Linked DNA regions of Homo sapiens: all the other regions are linked to region 1. The links are contacts of gene promoters, found by promoter capture Hi-C in blood cells and fetal thymus (Javierre and others, 2016). All regions are on one chromosome and are shown on one strand. Each heading gives the region's core, a stretch centred on a gene start or on the middle of the fragment in contact. The rest is flanking DNA. Distances are from core to core; before and after follow the strand shown.

The links. The method cuts DNA at HindIII sites, captures the fragments that hold promoters and counts their contacts. A CHiCAGO score of 5 or more calls a contact.
Region 2: a fragment that was not itself captured here is called in contact with the fragment with the promoter of RPL34 in region 1 in 6 of 17 cell types (total B cells, total CD8 T cells, naive B cells and 3 more); the score reaches 15.6 in total B cells.
Region 3: a fragment that was not itself captured here is called in contact with the fragment with the promoter of RPL34 in region 1 in 9 of 17 cell types (megakaryocytes, naive CD4 T cells, fetal thymus and 6 more); the score reaches 21.6 in megakaryocytes.
Region 4: a contact is called between a fragment that was not itself captured here and the fragment with the promoter of RPL34 in region 1, in 8 of 17 cell types (fetal thymus, naive CD4 T cells, activated CD4 T cells and 5 more). The highest score is 12.7, in fetal thymus.
Region 5: a contact is called between a fragment that was not itself captured here and the fragment with the promoter of RPL34 in region 1, in 7 of 17 cell types (fetal thymus, naive CD4 T cells, naive CD8 T cells and 4 more). The highest score is 13.8, in fetal thymus.

The regions. Positions count from the first base shown.
Region 1 is chr4:108,619,227-108,621,902 of GRCh38, forward strand. RPL34 (ribosomal protein L34) reads left to right here and starts at 1,350. Exons shown (of 5, transcript NM_001319236.2): 1 at 1,350-1,374. RPL34-DT (RPL34 divergent transcript) reads right to left here and starts at 1,231. Exons shown (of 4, transcript NR_026968.1): 1 at 1,082-1,231. RefSeq lists enhancers at 888-2,087, 1,313-1,362. The HindIII fragment of the contact is 3,742 bases long and covers 880-2,676 here.
Region 2 is chr4:107,722,909-107,725,584 of GRCh38, forward strand. No RefSeq gene overlaps it. Among named protein-coding and RNA genes, the nearest start is that of PAPSS1, 4.0 kb to the left of the region's middle. The HindIII fragment of the contact is 4,310 bases long and covers 1-2,676 here.
Region 3 is chr4:108,054,215-108,056,890 of GRCh38, forward strand. All of the region lies in intron 11 of LEF1 (lymphoid enhancer binding factor 1), which reads right to left. Among named protein-coding and RNA genes, the nearest start is that of HADH, 66 kb to the left of the region's middle. RefSeq lists an enhancer at 2,261-2,676. The HindIII fragment of the contact is 706 bases long and covers 956-1,661 here.
Region 4 is chr4:108,073,495-108,076,170 of GRCh38, forward strand. All of the region lies in intron 8 of LEF1 (lymphoid enhancer binding factor 1), which reads right to left. Among named protein-coding and RNA genes, the nearest start is that of HADH, 85 kb to the left of the region's middle. The HindIII fragment of the contact is 8,586 bases long and covers 1-2,676 here.
Region 5 is chr4:108,097,302-108,099,977 of GRCh38, forward strand. All of the region lies in intron 3 of LEF1 (lymphoid enhancer binding factor 1), which reads right to left. Among named protein-coding and RNA genes, the nearest start is that of LEF1-AS1, 69 kb to the right of the region's middle. The HindIII fragment of the contact is 1,443 bases long and covers 626-2,068 here.

The sequences.
Region 1 (2,676 bases), core at 100-2,599:
AGAGACGAAAAGGATTTCAGAGGACAAAAATCAAAGGACTGGAAAGGAGGGAAGTAGCTGATGACAAGGTCGGGGGAGAAGCAGCTATTTGAGAGTGAGCAGAGGGAAGGATATAACCAGAGCCTTCCATCTGGTGTTGTGACAAAGATGGCAGTGATGTGAGGCTTGATAGAATCAATAGGCCTCACAGTTCAAGACAGACTACATGCCCTCAGTCACTTGCCTGCTTTCTTGGTTTGCTAGATGGATTAGAAATACTAGAAGGAAAGTTGAGTGGGTACTGGGATATCCTATCCAAATCCTCTCTTCTGGGGCAATGCAGCTGCCTCACAGCAACCACGTTGTGGATCACCTGACCCCGCCTTTCTCAGCTTCCTGGAGGTGCATTCTAAGAGCGCTCCCCATAAGCCAACACTCAAGTCTCTTCGAGGTGTGTTTCCAGGGAGCCTGATCTAAGATTAAAAACTTAAAGGCCCCTTTTAGAATTGTCTTTTACAGCCCAGGCAAAGAGTTCTTTACTTTTTTAGAGGTCATGAATCCCTTTGACAAGGTGATGAAAGCCAGGGACCCTCTTCTCAGAAAAATACACACGTGCGCTTAATGTAAAATTTTACATACTGTTTTAAAGGTTAAACTTTACCACCCATGAAAAGCCTCAAGTAGTTCTTTGTACATAATCATAAGATTAGCAACCATTTACTGAGCACTTCCTCTCTATAAGACCCTGTGCTAAGTGCTTTAACTTCATAATGCCTTTGATCATGACATAACATGGCACGGTAGTTCCTAATATCTTCCTTTTAGAGATTTAAGGGCTTGCTCAAAGTAACATAGCTAATAATTAGCAGACACTGGATTAAAATCCCAATTTGTTTGTAAAGCTTGTGCTCTGAATAAATGACAAGGAAAGAGAAGGGAAGGTTGAAGAAGGGAAGGTTCTTGAAGGTCCCTGGTCCTTGAAGGTCCCTTAACCATAAATGTCAAGAGTTGGGATTTAAACCCAGGTCTAACGCCAGAGCTGGCGCCCTTTAGATTAAAAGTGCAGTGTCCATGACAACGAAAGAAGTTGATTTTGTCCCACCTTTGCTCTTTGCGGCTTTTCATTTGCGTTTGTTTCCACAGCGATTTCCAATAGATTTCTGCGTGGCCTTGACACAGACAGCTAGTGTGAATCCCCGCCCACAGAGGGGCGGCACGTTGGTTGCCGTACAACGTGGTGGTTCCCTGCATCTCTGCCCACGTCGGAGAGGTGCGTCGGCTTCCGTACAACACGGATACTCTCTCTCTGACGCAACTTCCTGTCCTGCGCAATTCTATTTGACCTTTGAACTGGCAAAGGCTTTTTTCTTCCTCTTCCGGGGACGTTGTCTGCAGGTATGGATGTTGTTCTCTTTTCCCTGTCTTTATTTCCTTACCAATCGGCTGCCATCCGAGGAGCTGAGGAAGCCTAGAGCTCTCAGAAGCAGTCCTTTGAGCTGGTGTAGGGGTAAGGGGCACAACAGGGAGGTTGGTGGTGAGGAAGTTCCTTACTTTGATCTTTGGAAATCCCTTGTTCCTGGTGGCACCTCCAAAGCCGTGAGTAGCCACAGCTCACCACCCGGGACTTTGCTGCATTCCAAGTGTAGCGTTTGGAGACTAACGAGTTGTGGTTTGGCGGTTTGAGTCTGGAAAATCGCCAAACGTTTTCATATTTTACACCCACGTTTTCACAGCACGCCTGTACGTGTCCTTAGTCTTTGGGAGGGCAGGGTCCGGCGAGTTCGGGTGGTTTCGCTATTTGGCTTCTGCGTCCAAGGCCCATGTCAAGGAAGAGAAAAATGTGTTAGAAGTTTCTGTCTTGCTTTTGGAGATGCAAACAGAATAATGGCTTCATAAATCACTCGCACTGGTTTTACGTGTCAAGTTTTGGTGTCTGGTAATTCTGTTTTAGTTTAATTTTAGTGAGAGGCTTGTGACAACAAATGAGGTGGTTACAAGGGGTGGAATGGGAAGATTAAATTAGTTCAAGTATTGATTATGTTTTACGTTGGGTAGTTCCCTTAACGAAGTTGCTCGTATGCATATCTGTATAACCGATTTGCTAAATAACATCACGATGTTTCCAGAAGTGGGAAGAAAGCAGGTGCCATAACCCAAAGAAACTTGTGTAATATCAAAATTAGTATTAAAGGGTATGCCTTTACGCAGGTGGTGCTTTAGGGCAAGACATTGAACCCTGATATGTGCCAGGCATTGTGTTGGGACGGATAGCCCACGTCGTTTAATCCTAATGACAGCTGTATAAAGTAGACAGAATTCCCATGTTAGAGATAAGGAGGCTAGCTCCTTGCCCTTTATATTCCCAGTAAATGGCATAGCTAAGGATTCGACTTCAGAGCTCACTTTTTGTGCTCTTTGTTTAAAGCGGTGTTTCTCCAACTGGGCTCGTGGCACTTTTCTGGACACCACTCCAAACAAAATTAGACTCTGAGTAAGGAGCCTGGTCATCAGAACGTTAAGGAAGTGCCACGTTTGATTACCATCAGGAAAGCTAACATTCTTGGCCTCTTGTTTATCAGTCACCTTTAAATACAAGTAGTTTTAAAATGTGGAATAATACATCTTAATTTAAGGGTGTTACATACAAGGATATGTATGTGAATGAAATAGACCACATGATACTGTTTTGAGATTTTA
Region 2 (2,676 bases), core at 109-2,608, 900 kb before region 1:
AGGAGCAAGGAGAGCCAGTCTAAGTCCCAAAACTGAACAACTTGGAGTCCGATGTTCAAGGGCAGGAAGCATCCAGCACAAGAGAAAGATGTAGGCTGGGAGGCTAGGCCTATCTTGCCTCTTCACGTTTTTCTGCCTGCTTTATATTCCCTGTTAGCGGTTTAGGTGGTGCCAACTCAATTAAGGGTGGATCTGCCTTCCCCAGCCCACTGACTCAAATGTTAATCTCCTTGGGTAACAACCTGACAATGATCAATATTGCATCTTTCAATCCAATCAAGTTGACCCTCAGTATTAACCATCACAAGTCCACCCCTTGACAACTTGAACCCATACACATCTCCTGAGATCATTCATAATCTTCAAATAAGACAATAATAAGGTCATAATTATGTCTAACATAACTGAACTGTCCTTTGTACAACTGGAAATGCAGTCCCCAACTCACATACTATTACATAAAGTTAACAATACTTAAATGCTGATATGAAGTCAGTGAATCTCATATCACATGATAAAGGAAAAGGAAATAAAATGAAGATATTTTCTTAGTACAAGTGTATGCATGCACAAACATGTTTTTAACAAAAGAAGGAGGAAATTCTCATGACAATCACAGTCCTCGTTTCTGCAGCTGGTCATGTGCTCATAGCTGGTATTGATGACTACCTTTTTCTACTACCCATTCTGTATTCCCTTTGCCTTCAGCAAGTACCTGAACAGGTGGTGGTTTTTTTTTCCTGGTGGAGTGACCCAAACCTTCATTCCTGAAGGGTCTGGGCCATTTGTAGTCCTGCCTGGATTGGGCTGTTGTAGTTTCCCATTGACCTTAATCACAGGGTAATACTAAGAGACGAACTAATGGATCTCCTGTGTTCCATGTGTACTCTTTCTTACCTCCACTGTGGAGTAGTAGACTGATTGATTTCATCTTGATAGTCTGGGTCAGTCACCCCAGCTAACATTGTAACTCCCTTCTTAGTCTGTTAACTTAGAGGTAGGAGGAGCCCAAAGTGTCCAGGTGGCAATCTTAACTTATAGTTTAATGGAATTGTTTTGTCTCCTGGTGGCAGCGTTTCTCCCTCTGGAACTAAGACCTCTAGACCAGCAGAATGTAATGCCATAGAAACAGGAAGCAAAAATGTTGCTAGTGGATCACTAGGGGTGATGGTGAGTGGTGCCACTTCCACTTCCACCCCTTGATTCCTGGACCCGTGATTCCTGGCTACGGGAGAAACAGTACCATATATTGGATGCTGATTCAGAGCCTACACGGTCTTCTGGAAATCTTTGCCCCAGCCCTGCAAACTATTGTCACCTAGTCGGCATTGTAGTTGTGATTTCAAAAGGTCGTTCCACTGTTCTGTCAACCCGGCTGCTTCAGGATGATGGGGAACATGGTAAGACCAGTGAATTCCATGAGCATGAACCCACTGCCACACTTCTTTAGTGGTAAAGTGAATGCCTTGGTCAGAGGCAAAGCTGTGTGGAATACCATAATGGTGGATAAGGCATTCCGTGAGTCCACGGATGGTAGTCTTGGCAGAAACATTGCATGCAGGATAGGCAAACCCATATCCAGAGTAAATGTCTATTCCAGTGAGGACAAACCTCTGCCCTTTCCATGATGCAAGAGGTCCAATATAATCAACCTGCCACCAGGTAGCTGGCTGATCTCCTGAGGAATGGTGTCATATTGCGGGCTCAGTGTTGGTCTCTGCTGCTGGCAAATTGGGCACTCATTGGTGGCCATAGCCAGGTCAGCCTTCATGAGTGGAAGTCCATGTTGCTGATCCCATGCATAACCTCCATCCCTGCCATCATGGCCACTTTGTTCATGGGCCCATTGGGCAATGACAGGGGTGGCTGGGGAAAGAGGCTGAGTGCTGTTAACAGAATGGTTCATCCTATCCCCTTGATTATTAAAATCCTCCTCCACTGAGGTCACCCGTTGGTGAGCACTCACATGGGATATAAGTATCTTCACAGTTTTTGACCACTCAGAGAGGTCCATCCACATACCTCTTCCCCAAATGTCTTTGTCACCAATTTTCCAATCATGCTTCTTACAAGTCCCTGGCCATTAAGCCAAACCAGTGGCTACAGCCCATGAATCAGTGTATTATTGCACATCTGGCCATTTCTCCTTCCATGCAAAGTGCACAGCCAGGTGCGCTGCTCGAAGTTCCGCCCATTGGGAAGATTTCCCTTCATTGCTGTCCTTCAGGGATGTCCTAGGAAGGGGCTGTAGTGCTGCAGCTATCCACTTTCGGGTGGTGCCTACATATCATGTAGAACCATCTATGAACCAGGCCCTGATTTTCTCTTCCTCTGTCAACTGATCATAGGGAACGCCCCATGAGGCCATCAGTGCAGGCTGGGGGACAGAAGGCAGGGTGGCAGGAATGGGGACCATGGGCATTTGAGCCACTTCCTCATGTAACTTACTTGCGCCTTCAGGACCTGCTCAAGCCCTATGACAAATATACCACTTCCATTTGCTGATGGAATGCTGCTGTGCATGACTCACTTTATGGCCAGATGGGTCAGAAAGCACACAGTTCATGATAGGCAGTTGAGGTCACATAATGACTTGATGACCCATAGTCAAACATTCAGTTTCCACCAAAGCCCAGTAACAGGCCACAAGCTGTCTCTCAAAAGGAGAGTAGTTAT
Region 3 (2,676 bases), core at 59-2,558, 570 kb before region 1:
GTTTCCTCATCTGTAAAGTGAAGATAAGAAGCTGCTCTACCTCATCAGGTGCGCTGCGGGATGTGGGAGACGTATGTGCAGAGCCGGGCGAGTGCAGGGCAGACGCCCTGAAGCAGCGTAGTGAGTGCAGTAACAGCAGAGGATGGAGAACTGGGGCTCAGAGCTGATGGTAATTCACTCTGCAGACGCAGCGCTGCTACTCGCCAGCTGCATGGCCCTGGACAAGTGATTATTTTCTCATCCTTCAGACAGAACTGAAATCTGTCCCCTCCACCCCACAATGGGGCTGCTACAGAACGAGAGGAGGCAACACATGCAGAAGCATCTGTTAAAGCCTCTGGAATGTGGCAGGTGGTCCATACAGGTTGGGACCATTTCTGCTGTTCCAACTTCACACGACACATTCGGGGCAGCAAGCAAGATTCATACTATTACAGAACTTCTGGTAGAAAATTAAGACCAACAGGGTATTCTGCCAATTAATTAAAATATCTCTTATGAAACAGAATGCTTCTAAAAGCATGATGCTAGCTGAGAAAAACTAATCCCAATACAAAAAAAAAGTTAGATTCACAAAAACGATATATAGGCAGTTAGAAAAATTTAGTGTAGAGATTGATGTAAACCTTATGCCAAAAAGTGAGTTTAATTTTTAATGCTTTTAATTTTTCTTTCATTCTGTCAAAAAGAATAAAGTTACTTTGCTAAAGGTCACAGACAGCTATGAGCAGCAGGATTTCCCACTCATCTGGCTCTCAGTAACATGGTAGCTTCATTTATGAAGAACACTGCTGAGGAAAAACACGTTAAAACTATCTCAAGGTATCACAGTAATGTCATGAAATTTATGTGCAAAAATAGCACATTTTAGCCTTTCTTAAAATAGCACATTTTAGCCTTTCTCTATACCCCAAATCAGACCCCATTTACTTTTAATTTACATATTATTCAATTAAGCTTCATTTTCCTGGTTCCTAAATCCACACAGATCAGAAGAAACATATTATTGTGGGTACAGGGTATAGTCCCAAACAGCAAAGGAAGCCACAAAAGAATTATTAAAAAGCAGTTTCTTAAAATTCCATGTTATTTGGGGTCATTTAGAATAGTATTATACAAATCACCATACTCCTTGTGGCATATATAATATTCACTGTAAAATAATGGCATGAGGTATTCGTATTCAAATCAATTTCAATGTACTCTGCTGAAGAAGACAGAGTTGCATCCAAAAGTGCTTTGAAAAATTACATGTTTTGACACTTAAAGATGTAAACCATATAGCTTCTCTGAAAAACTCCATTATCCAGAAGGGCTCATTTCCACACAGTTCCTCACAACTCAGTAACAAACAGTTCTATTAAACAAAATTTATCCAAAATACTTCTTTTTTATTCTATATTCTAGTGCATTGATCTTAATTCCATTTGGTAAGTTTTCATGAACAATACTAAACATGAAGCATTTCAAGAGGGTTTTAATGAACCTCATATACTCCTCTCCCTCTGCTATTATTTTTTAATGGCATCAGATCAGTCTTGCTACCTGAGGGTCTATTTCTCTATTTCTGCTCCCCAAGGCAACTTAAACACAATTCTAGCTCTTCTGATCATTAAGGAGAGAAAAGATAATTGATGGAAGGGATACTGCCCATTCTTAAAAGCTTTCACTGTACCCATGAACCCAACCCAATTTCTTTATTAACACAGAGCTGTCTAGATAAAACCACCCCAACTATCAGCTTCCTAGTGAGCTATAGCGGACATCTGTCGGGCTGCTGTCCAGCTCTCCTCTCCATTATCCCAACTCCAACACTGTTAGAGCAGTGAGCTCCTGACAGCCATTTTGTACAATGTGACCTTCTCCTCTGGCCACAGCTGATTATAGATTGGGGTGGAAGTTTGACCCAAGTTGGGCTAACCAGAGTCGCTTCTACAGAATTTGAAAGAATTATTGTCTCTTTGGGAGATGATATTGTAACAACATATAGCTTGAGTGCTCTAAACATAAGGCTCAGAGAACTGAGAGAGTCAATCTGGGAAGGGAAGGAGGAAGTGATTTTCAGGGAGGGACAGATGGAAGCAGCAGGGAAAGTGTCTGGACAGCTTTCCAATTTCCAGTTTTCTTTTTGGCCCAACTGCTCTACTGTCCTTGGATTCCACAAGATGCTCCTATATCCTTAAAACACATTTCCCCTTTCTCCTTAAGTGAGCACCATTTGTTTCCGGCACTTGCCATCAAAAGGCTCCCATGAATGCACCTAGGGATCCTGGAACAATGGCCAGGATGTGAAAAACTGCAGTCCACGCATAACTGAGTCTAACCACACTGTCATTATGCTGCCATTGCTATTTAAGACAATGAAACCAAGCCTGAGATTATCTGTAGTCAAGTGTCATCACCTTGTGAATCCTGTACACATTTCCTGTTAGTCTGTGACAGGTGTCACAGGGATTTCTGAACACAAGCATAAAAAGAAGGAAGACACAGGTAGGCCGTCACCTCAGACTGGAGCATTCCCAGAAACGACACATATGGGAGCCTCTCCGGGCCACCACAACCTCCACCTCCTATGCAGCGATCTGGCAATCCATGCAAGATAAACAGCACGCCAGCAGTCGCTTCCACAGGACCTCACCACTGTGGTAAAATGGCAGCACAAGGTACCCCCAACTG
Region 4 (2,676 bases), core at 46-2,545, 550 kb before region 1:
ATAAAAGAAGACAGGAAGTCTTCCATTTTAAATTTACTATTTGACAACTATCATTCCCCTATATACAACACCTTTTATTACTGTATCAGTATAGTTTTACGTAACTTACAGTAGCTGAGAAAACCTGGAATCATAAATACAAATTAACTCCCAAAATAGGTATCAAGTTTGGGTCTTCTACCCAAACAACGAGGTATTTTTCAGTTAAAACAAGAAACAGGTTGACAAAAAGACCCAAGCTAACGAAACTGAATAAAAGGCAAGGAGGCAAAGTAGGCATAAACTAAACTATTTATTTACATGTTCCATTGCTTTAAGTCCTCTGATAACCCCCCCCCCTTTTTTTTTTGAGACAGAGTCTCGCTCTGTTGCCCAGGCTGGAGTGCAGTGGCGCGATCTCGGCTCACTGCAAGCTCCGCCTCCCAGGTTCAAGTGATTCTCCTGCCTCAGCCTCCCTAGTAGCTGGGACGACAGGTGCGTCCCACCACGCCCGGCTACTTTTTTGTATTTTTAGTAGATATGGGGTTTCACCGTGTTAGCCAGGAAGTTCTCTGATATTTCTAATGTACAAAAATGACTCACAAATAGAAGATCACTTACCAAAATGAACAGTAGATAAAATGATGTAATTAAAGTTTTGCATTGAAAACAAAAACAAAGTCTAGTACAGACCTGAAAGATGGTCTTTCTTTACAGGAATTTCTGAAACACAATTGACTAAAAATGCTTCTCTATCTCTATTTACTGCAAAATAAAGAGTCAAACTTTTTAAAAATCAAATCTCATTGTCAAGATTTCACCAAGTTGTGGGGAAAATATCCATTTAATTTGAATAAACTTGTACAGTTCCAAGATAAAACATTCTCATGACAAATTTGTGATAAATGGATTTCCTTTAATAGCCAGGAAGGTCTGAAGAGAAAAGGCTTATTTTAAAATAAAATTTGTGATATTATTATTTATAATATGGATTAAAAATAAAACTTTGATTAATTCATATGAACACTATTTTAGAGATATAGTAAAGATGAATAAAAATCAAAAGATAAAATGTTCTGGGATGGATTTAAGATCCACTTTTAAGAACTCAAATTATCCCAGTGTAAAACGTCATGATTTTGATGCCAGAGACTTTAAAGAGCTAGCAAGGGCTGCCCTGCCAGAGGGGAGTTATGAAAGGATAGAAAACCTGATCTTAATCAAAGATCTCAGAGACCTATAAATAGAAACAGGTGTCTAAATCAGAGACAGACAGAGACCCCAAATAAGAACCATCCTTTAGGACACATGCTCGGATCTGGGGATTGTTAAGGGAGCTGAGAAAGTAGCAATTGTTGGAAATGTGCATTAAGAATAGGAAGCATACCTTCATATCATATCCTCACTCTCTGTATTCAGCAGGAAAGTAATTCCCACTGGAGGGCCAGGGGGCCCTTAACTCAAAAAAGAAAAAAGAAAAAACTAAGAGTTGCATACAAGCTGAAATAAAAACATCAGCCCTTCTTTTCCTCTGATTTCTTCTTTTAAAGAGTCAGGGAAAATGATCATCAGTTTTTAAGGCGGAGTTCTTCCAAGATGATGGGAATCACTCATCTGCCATGATCTGGCTTGGGAAAGCATTGTAATTATTGTTATTAAGTGTCTAAGAATCCACAGGGAGATAGGGCATTGTACACAGGACACCAAAAAAGCTATAATCTATCACCACATCCTCCCCTGGAAACCCTGGTGACTTGCAGATTGGAAATAGCTGCATTTTGAGGCTATCCAATGGGAATCGATAATGTAAGAGGGCCTGCTTCCCTCCTGTTCACATGGACTGGAAATCTCCTAAATGTTTTCTGTTATAAATGCTCAAATTTATTAGGTTCAGAACAGACCTGGTAAAATTATCATCGACAATAGCTAACACATGATCCTCTATGTTTCACAAGGGTTGTTAGATCCTCCTCAACTGAATGTTCATTTGCCAATCATGAATTTCTTGAGAGGTTGCAAAAACAAACACAGGGTCACAAATTAAGAGGCTACCACACAGATATGAAGAGCATCAACAAATTAAGATGAAACATTTCTAAAATTATAATGATAACGTGACTATGGTGAAAATGTAATTTAAATTAGAGAAACTCAAACTTTTCTTACCACTCTTCAGCCATCTAACTGAAATCACTTCAATCCCATACAAAGTACTTGGAAGGACTGACTATGTATGTCTTTTGGCTGACAGTTGGATAAACAATCTTAGAGTGTCTATCCTAGTTGTAGCCTGCTGCCTGGTACATAACAGGGGCTCAGAAAAATATCATAGCATTGGTGAAAGAATGAATGAAAAGAAAAGGGCAACCCAGAAACCTGGCAGGTGTACACTTGGAGATTTGGAGAACAGTCTTTCTAGAATCAAGACTCCTCAGGATCATATACATTCTTCCATGTAAAGCCTCATGGTAGAACAGCTCTGCTTCTGTCCTGGAAGGAGTGGCCACCTCTGTTTGCCAGGACGGTCCCCCAAAGGCCTTGCTGTAGCTCCCTAAAGAGCTAAACGCTTTCCTGTTTCAGAGGCGGCACACACATGCTACTCCATCTGCATGTGGGGGAGTCTACCTCTCCCCATTCGTCTCTACTTACTCTCACATCTCAGCTTAAATACAGTTTCCTCAGAGGGGCCTGCCCAAG
Region 5 (2,676 bases), core at 97-2,596, 520 kb before region 1:
GGATGACATTATGTTATGTGAAATAAGCCAGGCACAGAGAAACAAATAACCACATTCTCACTCATTTGTGAGAGCTAAAAATTAAAACAGTTGAACTCACGGAGATACAGAGTAGAATGATGGTTACCAGCAGCTTGGAATGGGGGTTGGGTGAGTGGGGATGGTTAATGAGTGCAAAAATATAGTTAGGATAAGATCTAGTTTTGATAGCTAGCACAACAGCGTGACTATAGTCAACAATAATTTATCGTAAGTTTTAAAATAACTAAAAGAGTGGAATTGGAATGTTCCTAACACAATGAAATGATAGATGCTTGAGGAGATGGATACCCCAATTACCTGGACATGATTACTACACCTTGTATGCCTATATCAAAACATCACATGTACCCCATAAATATACATACCTATTATGTACCCATAATGATTAAAACCTAGACATTTTTTAATATCTGCTGCCTTATTCTGAGAGAAGTATTTTACCAATCCAATCACTGCATAATAACTTATTATGATTAATAAGCTGAAGTGTAGTCAGCTTGATGAAAGTAGTATTTGTGCAGGTCAGTGGAAAATAATGGAAGGTAAACAAATCAATTAAAGTGAGTGAGAAGTCAGGAGCAAAAGCTTTCTCTGTCTACCATCCAGAGAGCTCAGACCGGAGGCGACATGAGGCAACCCCAGGGACTCCAGAACCAGAGAGGGAGGGCACTGTTTGGGGCGGGTTGGTTCAGGGGGGACAAATTCCAGAAAGATTTCCTCAGAACCTCATCAGCCATCAATCCTGAATAGGCTCAACAAGGTTTTCTGGTGCTGGTCTGGGGACATGTTGGTTGAAAAGCCTCTCTCCTCCACTGCCCAGGGATGGCATATTCAGAGGGAGGGACTTCCCACTGCCACCACAGCCACACCTCTCTATTATGCAGTTTAGAGGGTGGAAGGGCTCTCCTTGGCACTCAGAATGTCCAGCAGGAAACAATGAATGGTTGGGCCTGAGAAATGGACTCTAGATCTCCTGTGGCGGGGTTGTGGGGGTGGGGTTCGGCAAGCTACAGTCTGCCCAAGGTCAAGGTCAGAGAAGTCCCACAGTTACCCAGATACGAAGTGCAGATGGTCTGTTTAAATGTTCAGACTGCAAATGGAGGGTGCAAAATTCCATAAGCGAAGCCAACAGACTTAAATCTAATTATTTCATATTCAAAGGGGGGGCTTTCACACTTAAGTTTCTAGGAAAAGCATTTGCCTTATTTTAGTTTAAGTAAAACTGATTCTTTAAGATCAGGTGTGAAGGATTTACAGGACAGTAACAGAAATACTTATGTGTACAATTTTGTCCCACCGAGCCTTCTCTGATTTTAATAAGTGCCATATATATACAGTATTCTCTACTTAAAATTGGGTGTTTTAGTAAGTGAAAAGATAACATTTATGTCTACAGGGGTCCTCATTTTTCTATAGAACTTCTGAAGTGCCTTTCAGAAATCAAATGGGGAAAATACAACAAGTTACTTGGGTTCAGCTACTATCAGTCAGATTGGGACTAAAAGTATGAATAATTGAGAGGTAAAGTTATTGGAAAACTCAAATCATTTTCTATGAACATGTAAATTTGATATTTACACTGTAAGATCAGCATTAAAGCTATTCTATAGCGTTGTAGAGTTGTGCTGTCCAATATGGTAGCCATTAGGCATTAGGTCGAGCCCTTGAAAGGTGGCTAGTCCAAGTTGAGACATGCCATAAGTGTAAAATACATACTAGAATTCAAATACTGTGTGTGAAAATAATGTAAATGATCTCAGTATGTTTATATTGATTACATGCTCAAATAACATTTTTGACATATTATGTTCAATAAATTTATTACTAAAATTAATTTTACCTGTCTTTACCTTTTGATGTAGCTTAAGAAAACATAAAATTACATATATGACTTGCATTTGTGATCTGCACTACATTTCTATCAGGCAGTTCTGCTTACAGTTTAAAAATTTGTAGGTGGGACTGCCCCCTTTCTGTCTCGTACTCCAATTTGACTTAAACAAAAAAATTGGCGTTTTTGAAACAAAGCTTCCTTGTATGGAAAAGAACTCTTATGGGTAAAAAAACTGAAAATCAGAGAAGGTAAGTGGCAGAGCTGGTAATTTAACATTACATTTCAATATCCCATACTGAGAGTCAAGTCTATACACATGTATGTATATATATATGTGTATGTATATATATATATATATGTGTATATGTGTGTGTGTGTATGTGTGTGTGTGTGTATATATATATATATATATATATATATATATATATATATATATATATAAATAATACTTGAAATTATGGGGTACGTGTGCAGAACATGCAGGTTTGTTACATAGGTATACACGTGCCCTGGTGGTTTGCCGCACCCATCAACCTATATCATCTACATTAGGTATTTCTCCAAATGCTAAAGTCAATATATTTAAAACCAAATATTTATATGACAACTAGTACAGAACTATAACCTTTCATTTTATGGTGTAAAAAAAATTACTAAAAGCAGGGTAGAATGATCCTTATGATTAAATTGTGTGTCTTGAAGCAGTTATATGTAACTTCTTCAACTTGCCAGTCAACTCAGATAACTTTTACAAATACCTAACACACATTTTCAGATTCATTACAAGTTACTGATGAACT